2 separate regions of the Homo sapiens genome follow, and region 2 is linked to region 1. Evidence: promoter capture Hi-C in 16 types of primary human blood cells and fetal thymus (Javierre and others, 2016). All regions are on one chromosome and are shown on one strand. The core of a region is centred on a gene start or on the middle of the fragment in contact, and the rest is flanking DNA. Distances in the headings are between cores, read along the strand shown.

Region 1 (3,239 bases), core at 141-2,640:
TTCACACCATTCTCCTGCCTCAGCTTCCCAAGTAGCTGGGACTACAGGCGCCCGCCACCACGCCCGGCTAATTTTTTGTATTTTTAGTAGAGACGGGGTTTCACCGTGTTACCCAGGATAGTCTTGATCTCATAACCTCATAATCCGCCCGCCTCGGACTCCCAAAGTGCTGGGATTACAGGCGTGAGCCAACCGCGCCCGGCCTGAAGAAGTGATTTTTAGGCAGGGACTTGAGGGCTGAAACAGCAGTTAGCCAGTAGAAGGGGTAGGAGAAGAGGAGTCCAGGCAAATAGATACTCATACTGAAACAAGGAGATGTGGAGTTAGAAATCAGACAGCAGAGGTGGGGGAAGTGCCTGAATCACATGACCTTTTAATCTTGTAAATCAGAACCTTCGTGGTCTCAGTGCCTTTGCACAAAGGTGTTCTTTTCATCTGAAGTGCTCTTATTTGCCTGGAAATTCCTACTCAGATCTAAACATTCAATCGAATGTCATCTTCCTTGAAAAGTGTTCCTCCTATCCCTAAGGGAGTTTGCTACTGCAGCTTCCCTGCTCCACAGGGTATACCTAGGGGCCCTTACCTCACACTAGACTGGGGCTCTTTGAGAGCAGGAACCCAGTCTCACTTACTCAATGTCCCTAATGCCCAGCATAGTTACCGGCATAAGGAAAATTTCTGAGAATATTCAGAGTGAAAAAAGCTCGCAGTGCAGGGGAAATGCTAAAAGCTAACAAGAACTGTTTCAAGTGCTTTATATTTAATAATTCATTTATTTCCCACAAAACTTTTTGAGGTGGGTACCATTATTCTCATCATCACGGGCAGAACTGGGATTCTAACTCGGAGTCTGGCTTCAGCACCTGCGCTCTTCACCACCTATACTTACTCTTGATGATTATAATGACTTCTAATAATGGTTAACATTTACGAGGTACCGGGCCCTGTGCTAAACTTTTTATTTATCGCCGCTTCGGTTAATACGGATAACCATTATCAGCCATCTTGCAGATGGAAAAACTAAGTCTTGTCAGCACGTCCGGCTTCCAGGCACCCGCCTTTAACACGTGCGATACCATCTGGCTTCCAGAAAAGCCCAACAGAAGTGAGATGAGGCCGACTGCCTGGATTAGTTCATCGGGAAGCGGGTGAGGGTAAAAGCCTTTCTCGTTTCCGCATTTTAATGACGCAGAAAGGTACCTGTGGGGATTATCCCATCTCAGGGCAGATGAGGAAGCCAAGGTTCGGGGCGCGGAGCCCCAGAGGAGAACGCCGACCGCGGCCCGGACTTAGAGATTAGGCCGCAGGGGAGCGGGGCCTCGAGAGACTACGACCATTGCTCCACTTACTCACCGAGAAGCCGTCGCCGCCCGTAGTTTTCGACTTTCCCGCCAGGCCCGACGCCGCTCTGACGCCACCGAGGCGCGCCATGACGTGACGCCAACTTCCGCGCCGGAAGTGGAAGGCCGGGCAGCCCAGCTGAAGGCAATAAGCTGGGCTCACCGCTGCAGCAGAGTTCTGTGCTAGCCGGGCATAGGGGCGAGAGAAGGCCCAGAGGCGACGTCAGAGAGAAGCAACTGCGCCCCGGTGAAGAGAAGCTCGCCCATCACCGGCTGGGAGCCAGCTTTCAGTGAAGATGGCAGGGCCAGAACTGTTGCTTGACTCCAACATCTGCCTCTGGGTGGTCCTACCCATCGTTATCACTCTTCGTAGACATGATCCGCCACTACGTGTCCATCCTGCTGGAGAGCGACAAGAAGCTCACCCAGGAACAAGTATCTGACAGGTCAGCGCCCTCCCTTCCCCAGCCTACCTCACACCGCCGTGACCTTGGACAAGAAAGTGCAGGCGTTGTGTCAGTTTGCCTAGGTTCACGTCTCGCCCCCACTGGCAAGGTGACCTTACCCGTTACCTCTGTGTTTCACTTTTGTCCTCTGTGAAATGGGGATAATAACAGTACCTCCCTCATAGACAGGTGGGAATCAAATTAGATGATGTCTGTAAATCCCTTAGCACAGGATCTAGGACGTATTGAGTGTTAAAAACAAAAAACAAAAACGGTGCTGTTAATCCTTTAGGTTAGTCGCCAACCCTCGGTGGGTTTACCTATGAACTATCCCATCCCACCCTTTCGTTGGGAAGAGTGCCTGGTGCTTTATAGCTTTTAGTATTTGTAACATCCAGTCAAGTGAGTGTGATAATCTGCATTCTACCAAATTACTGTTCCAATGGTTAGCTGAGATGCTAAGCACCAAAGCGCTTTGCAATCTGTAACACTGCTGTTAGACATGTAAGGAATTGTAATTATCATTTCCCTTCCTAGGGTGGAGGCAACTTCCTCACATACTTCATTGCAGTATTTATTTATTTATTTAATTTAACTTAATTTAATTTTTGAGACGGAGTTTCGCTCTTGTTGCACTAGATTAAGTATCTATTATTTTTCCGTTTGCATATTTTATCACTTGAACAGAAACTCTGAGCGCAGGGTCATGACCTTGCCTTACTCTATACCCCATAGCATGCAGCAGAGTGCAAGGCACATGGTAGGCCATCAAAAAACTTGTTCACAGCCAGGCGTGGTGGCTCTCACCTGTAATCTCAATACTTTGGGAGGCTGAGGTGGGAGGATCGCTTGAGCCCTGGAGTTCAAGACCAGCCTGGGCAACACAATGAGACCACTGTCTCTACAAAAAAATTTAAACATTAGCCAGGTGCAGTGGTGTGTGCCTGTAGTCCCAGCTACTCGGGAGGCTGAGGTGTGAGGATCACTTGAGCCCGGGAGTTCGAGGCTGAAGTGAGCCATGATCGCACCACTGCGATTGCAGCCTCAATCACTGCAGCCTCGACCTTTTTGGTCCAGCCTGGGTGACAAAGCAAGACCCTGTCTCCAGAAAAACAAACGAAAAAACACTTGTTCAGTCTACGATAATTCAAGACTTTTCCAGGCAGTGTAATCAAAAGAAATTCATCTAGCTCTCCTATATTTACGCTGCTGAATAGTTTTGTAGAAATGGAGTTGAATATCATGACCCTGAGGTATTTTAAGACCCTAAATAAGCAATCTTAAATTATCCTGTATTTTCTAAACACTCAATATCTGTGTTATCTGAAGTTTGCAAATTCCGCAAGAAATTTTTAATTTTGTATTTTTATTTTTGTGAATATCTAAAAATAAGTCCTTGTACTGTTATAAAGATAAAGCTTTGTAATTTGTAACTGAAAGACATCTATTTATT
Region 2 (3,579 bases), core at 546-3,045, 1.1 Mb after region 1:
GTTCCGTTCCTGTTTGGATTGCATTCCAGGTTGGCACACATCTCTCTTTCCAAGTTGTCCACTTTCCCTTCCTCTGCTTTCACTGCCCCAGCTCTTTCCAGGCTTCCTCATTTGGCTGCATGTGTAGTACCATGCCGAAAGCACTGGACTGCCAGACGGGAGACAGGAATTTTGGTCTTGGCTTGACTGATGCCTACTATTGTGTGCCTGCTTTTGATACCAGTTTCCTCTTTTGACTAGACAGTTTCTGGAGTTTGGCTTTAACATTCTTTGATTTGATTCTTAACTTGTGTGGTGGCAATGGCCACCTTTCACCCAATAGTGACTATAGGCTAGGTGTTGGAGTCTGAAGAGGAGGAGGCTTGGAGTAAGAGCTGGAAGCGCATTAGAAGTGGAACAGAAGTACAGTAGCCCTTATGTGAAGGGATGACAATATGGCACAAGAATCGGTGTGCCATCATCTTTAGCTGTCTAAAGCAATTTGGGCAACCTGAGACTGAATGTATAAGAGTCATATGAGAGAAGTTTTTATTTATTTGTCAAGATCCCTTGCAGTTTATCTGGAGTTAGCTTTTGAATTTGTGTATTTGACAAAGAGTTTGATTTTTTTTTTAGGGGATAGAGAAAAAGTTTTGTGACAGGACTTCCAATTTTGATGTCTTTCTGATATGTATATATGCATATTTGCATTTCAGACAATAGATGATTTGCTGCGGTGTGGAATTTGCTTCGAGTATTTCAACATTGCAATGATAATACCTCAGTGTTCACATAACTGTAAGTATGTTTTGTTCCTGTGAGTTAGTAAATTGCGATTTTTACATGAGGTAGTGTTAATTTAACACCAAAGATATGTGCACATATTTATGTTTCACCTTTAGCTCTTCTATCTTGTAGTTTTTCAGAAGGTCTTTTTCACTGCCTTCCTCTTGAATATTGAAGGTTTTTACAAGGCTTCTATATTTTCTACCTCGTTCCTCTTTGATATTTTTATGATTCTTATAGCATTTATGGCAGTAAAATTTTTGGTCACAATAAGTGGTTCTTTATTTGCCAAGTGTTTTTTGACGTTAAGTTTCAGAATTTTTGTTTTTAACAGGATAACAGATAGGTGGTTCCACCAAGTAGTACTTGATATAGAATTTCAAAGTTTAAAAATCTGTAACAATAAGAATATTGCCCCAGTGGGAGAATTCTACCACTGACTTTATTACAGACAGTTTTATACCTTAACTGCTATGTGACGCTGGAAAGACTCATGTTGGAATTTGTTTGTACTTCTCTTTAAGAGTCTAGTATATAAGCATTTAAAAATATCGTACCTTAAGATATTTAGTGCATAGGGGTTACCCTATCATTGTTGAGGAGCTAGACATACAGTTTATGGGTTATTCAGGTTCATGATCTTTCTTGTCCTCTATTTTCAAGTTGATTTATCTTGGAAAGTTAAAAACAGTCAACTTAGGCCTAAGAAATTGGTTTTAGTTGGTAGTAGCTTTGGTGGAAAAGTTTCTGTGGAGAAGACATAGTAAGAGGGTAGCAGTGACGGCAGCACGGGCATTGCAGATGCCCTTGGGCTTGACTCTTGAAAATCGGGTGAGAATTTACTACTTTAGAAAATGTTTGTGAGAATTAAATGTGCAGAACTCACTGTCCGGCACATTATGAGTCCTTAACAATGTTAGTTTTCTTCCAGACAAGATTCACATTAAAAACCAAGATAAGTTTTGGAGATTGTTTTAAAATATATTTTAACATCATCTTTATTTGGGTGTAATTTACATACAATAAAATACATCCATTTTAAGTGCACATTAAGGTATAAAAGTGTTCATGAATTTTGACAAATGTGTATGCTGTGTTACTACTGCAATTAAGATACTGAACATTTTCATTATCTGATAAATTTCTCCCCATCTCAGTCAGTATGACCTCAGCTAGCCATCTGTAGTCTATTTCTGGACTCTTCTATTCCATTGATCTTAGAAACTTAGTAGTTTTTCACCAAAACTACTGCCCACTAAAACCAATTGTTTAGGCCTAAGTTTACTGTTGCTTTAGCTTTCCAAGATAAATCAACTTGAAAATAGAGAACAGGAAAGAGCATGAACCTAAATAATCTGTAAACTGTTTGTCTAACTCCTGAACAATGATAGGATAACCCCTATTGCAGTAAATACCTCAAGGTACAATATTTTAAAATGCTTATATGCTAGACTCATATATGTCTATCCTTGTGCCAGTACCACACTATCTTGATTACTGTGGCTTTGTAGTAAGTCTTGAAGTCAGGCATTGTAAGTCCTCCAACTTTTTTTTCTTCGTTTTTTTTAGGATCGTTGCATTTTAAATGCATTTCCATGTATAACTTAAAATCAGGTTGTCAATTTCTACCAAAAGCCTGCTGGGATGTTCACTGGAATTGTATTGAATCTAGAGATCAATTTGGGAGAATTGACATCTTAACAATGCCGAGTCTTCAGTGTATGAATATGATACACTTCTCTATCTTTATTTCTCTCAACAGTGTTGTTTGATTTTCATTGCACAGACCTTGCACAAAGAAATATAACTTATATTGACCTTTCGTCTTCTGACTGCAGTAAATTCACTTTAATTCCAGCATCTTTTTTGTTGATTCCTTAGAAATTTTTGCATACACAATCATGTCATTTGTGGATAAAGACAGTTTTACTCATTCCTTTCTGATCTATATGCCTTTATGTTTCTTTTTGTTACACAGGCTGGTACCTCAACTACAGTGTTGAAAGTGGTGTGGAGGGACATCCTGTCCTTACTCTTAATTTTTTGGGGAAAGCATTCAGTCTTTTACCATTAAGTATGATGTTAGCTGTAAGTTTTTTTTATATTCTTAATATGTTTTCATAAACCTACCAAGTTGAGGCACTTCTCTACCCCTGGTTAGGCGAGAGGATTTTTTTTTTTAAATCATGAATGGGTGTTGAATTTTGTCAAGTATTTTCTGCAGTTATGGAGATGCTCATATGATTTTCTTCCTTTATTTTGTGACATAGCTAATAACGTTGTTTTTGTTTTGTTTTGTTTGGGAGACAGGGCCTCACTCCCTCACAGTGGCTTTGTTACAGACTGGCTTTGTACTGTAGTCCCCCCTTATCTGTGATTTCAGTTACCTGTGGTCAACTGCATTCTGAAAATACTAAATGGGAAATTCTGGAAATAAATAATTCATAAGTTTTAAATTGCACTCTGTTCTAAGTAAAGCACTGATGAAATCTTGTGCCGTCCTGCCCAGGATGGGAATCATCCCTTTGTCAAGTGTGTTGATGTTACATATGCTATCTACCGTTAATCGTTTAGTGACCATCCTGGTTACCAGATTGACTGTTGCAGCATGGCAGTAATTGTCACTGTGTTGCAGAACACAGTAATTGTGTCAAGTAGCGCTTATTTTACTTAATAGTAGCCCCAAAGCACAAGAGTAATGATGCTGGCAATTCGGATATGACAAAGAGAAACCATAAAATGCTTCCTTTAAGTGAAAAGGTGAAAGTTCTTAACAAGGAAAGGAAAGAAAATTGTATGCTGAGGTTGCTAAGA

Evidence for each region. Contacts are between HindIII fragments. The CHiCAGO score rates a contact against its expected background, and 5 or more counts as called.
Region 2: a fragment that was not itself captured here is called in contact with the fragment with the promoter of FANCD2 in region 1 in 1 of 17 cell types (neutrophils); the score reaches 5.3 in neutrophils.

Annotation. Positions count from the first base shown.
Region 1 is chr3:10,024,588-10,027,826 of GRCh38, reverse strand. It overlaps FANCD2 (FA complementation group D2), which reads right to left and starts at 1,390. Exons shown (of 44, transcript NM_001018115.3): 1 at 1,354-1,390. It also overlaps the pseudogene CIDECP1. RefSeq lists enhancers at 657-1,291, 1,292-1,927, 2,563-3,199. The HindIII fragment of the contact is 7,543 bases long and covers 1-3,206 here.
Region 2 is chr3:8,956,118-8,959,696 of GRCh38, reverse strand. It overlaps RAD18 (RAD18 E3 ubiquitin protein ligase), which reads left to right. Exons shown (of 13, transcript NM_020165.4): 2 at 696-777. Among named protein-coding and RNA genes, the nearest start is that of RAD18, 5.6 kb to the left of the region's middle. The HindIII fragment of the contact is 8,076 bases long and covers 1-3,579 here.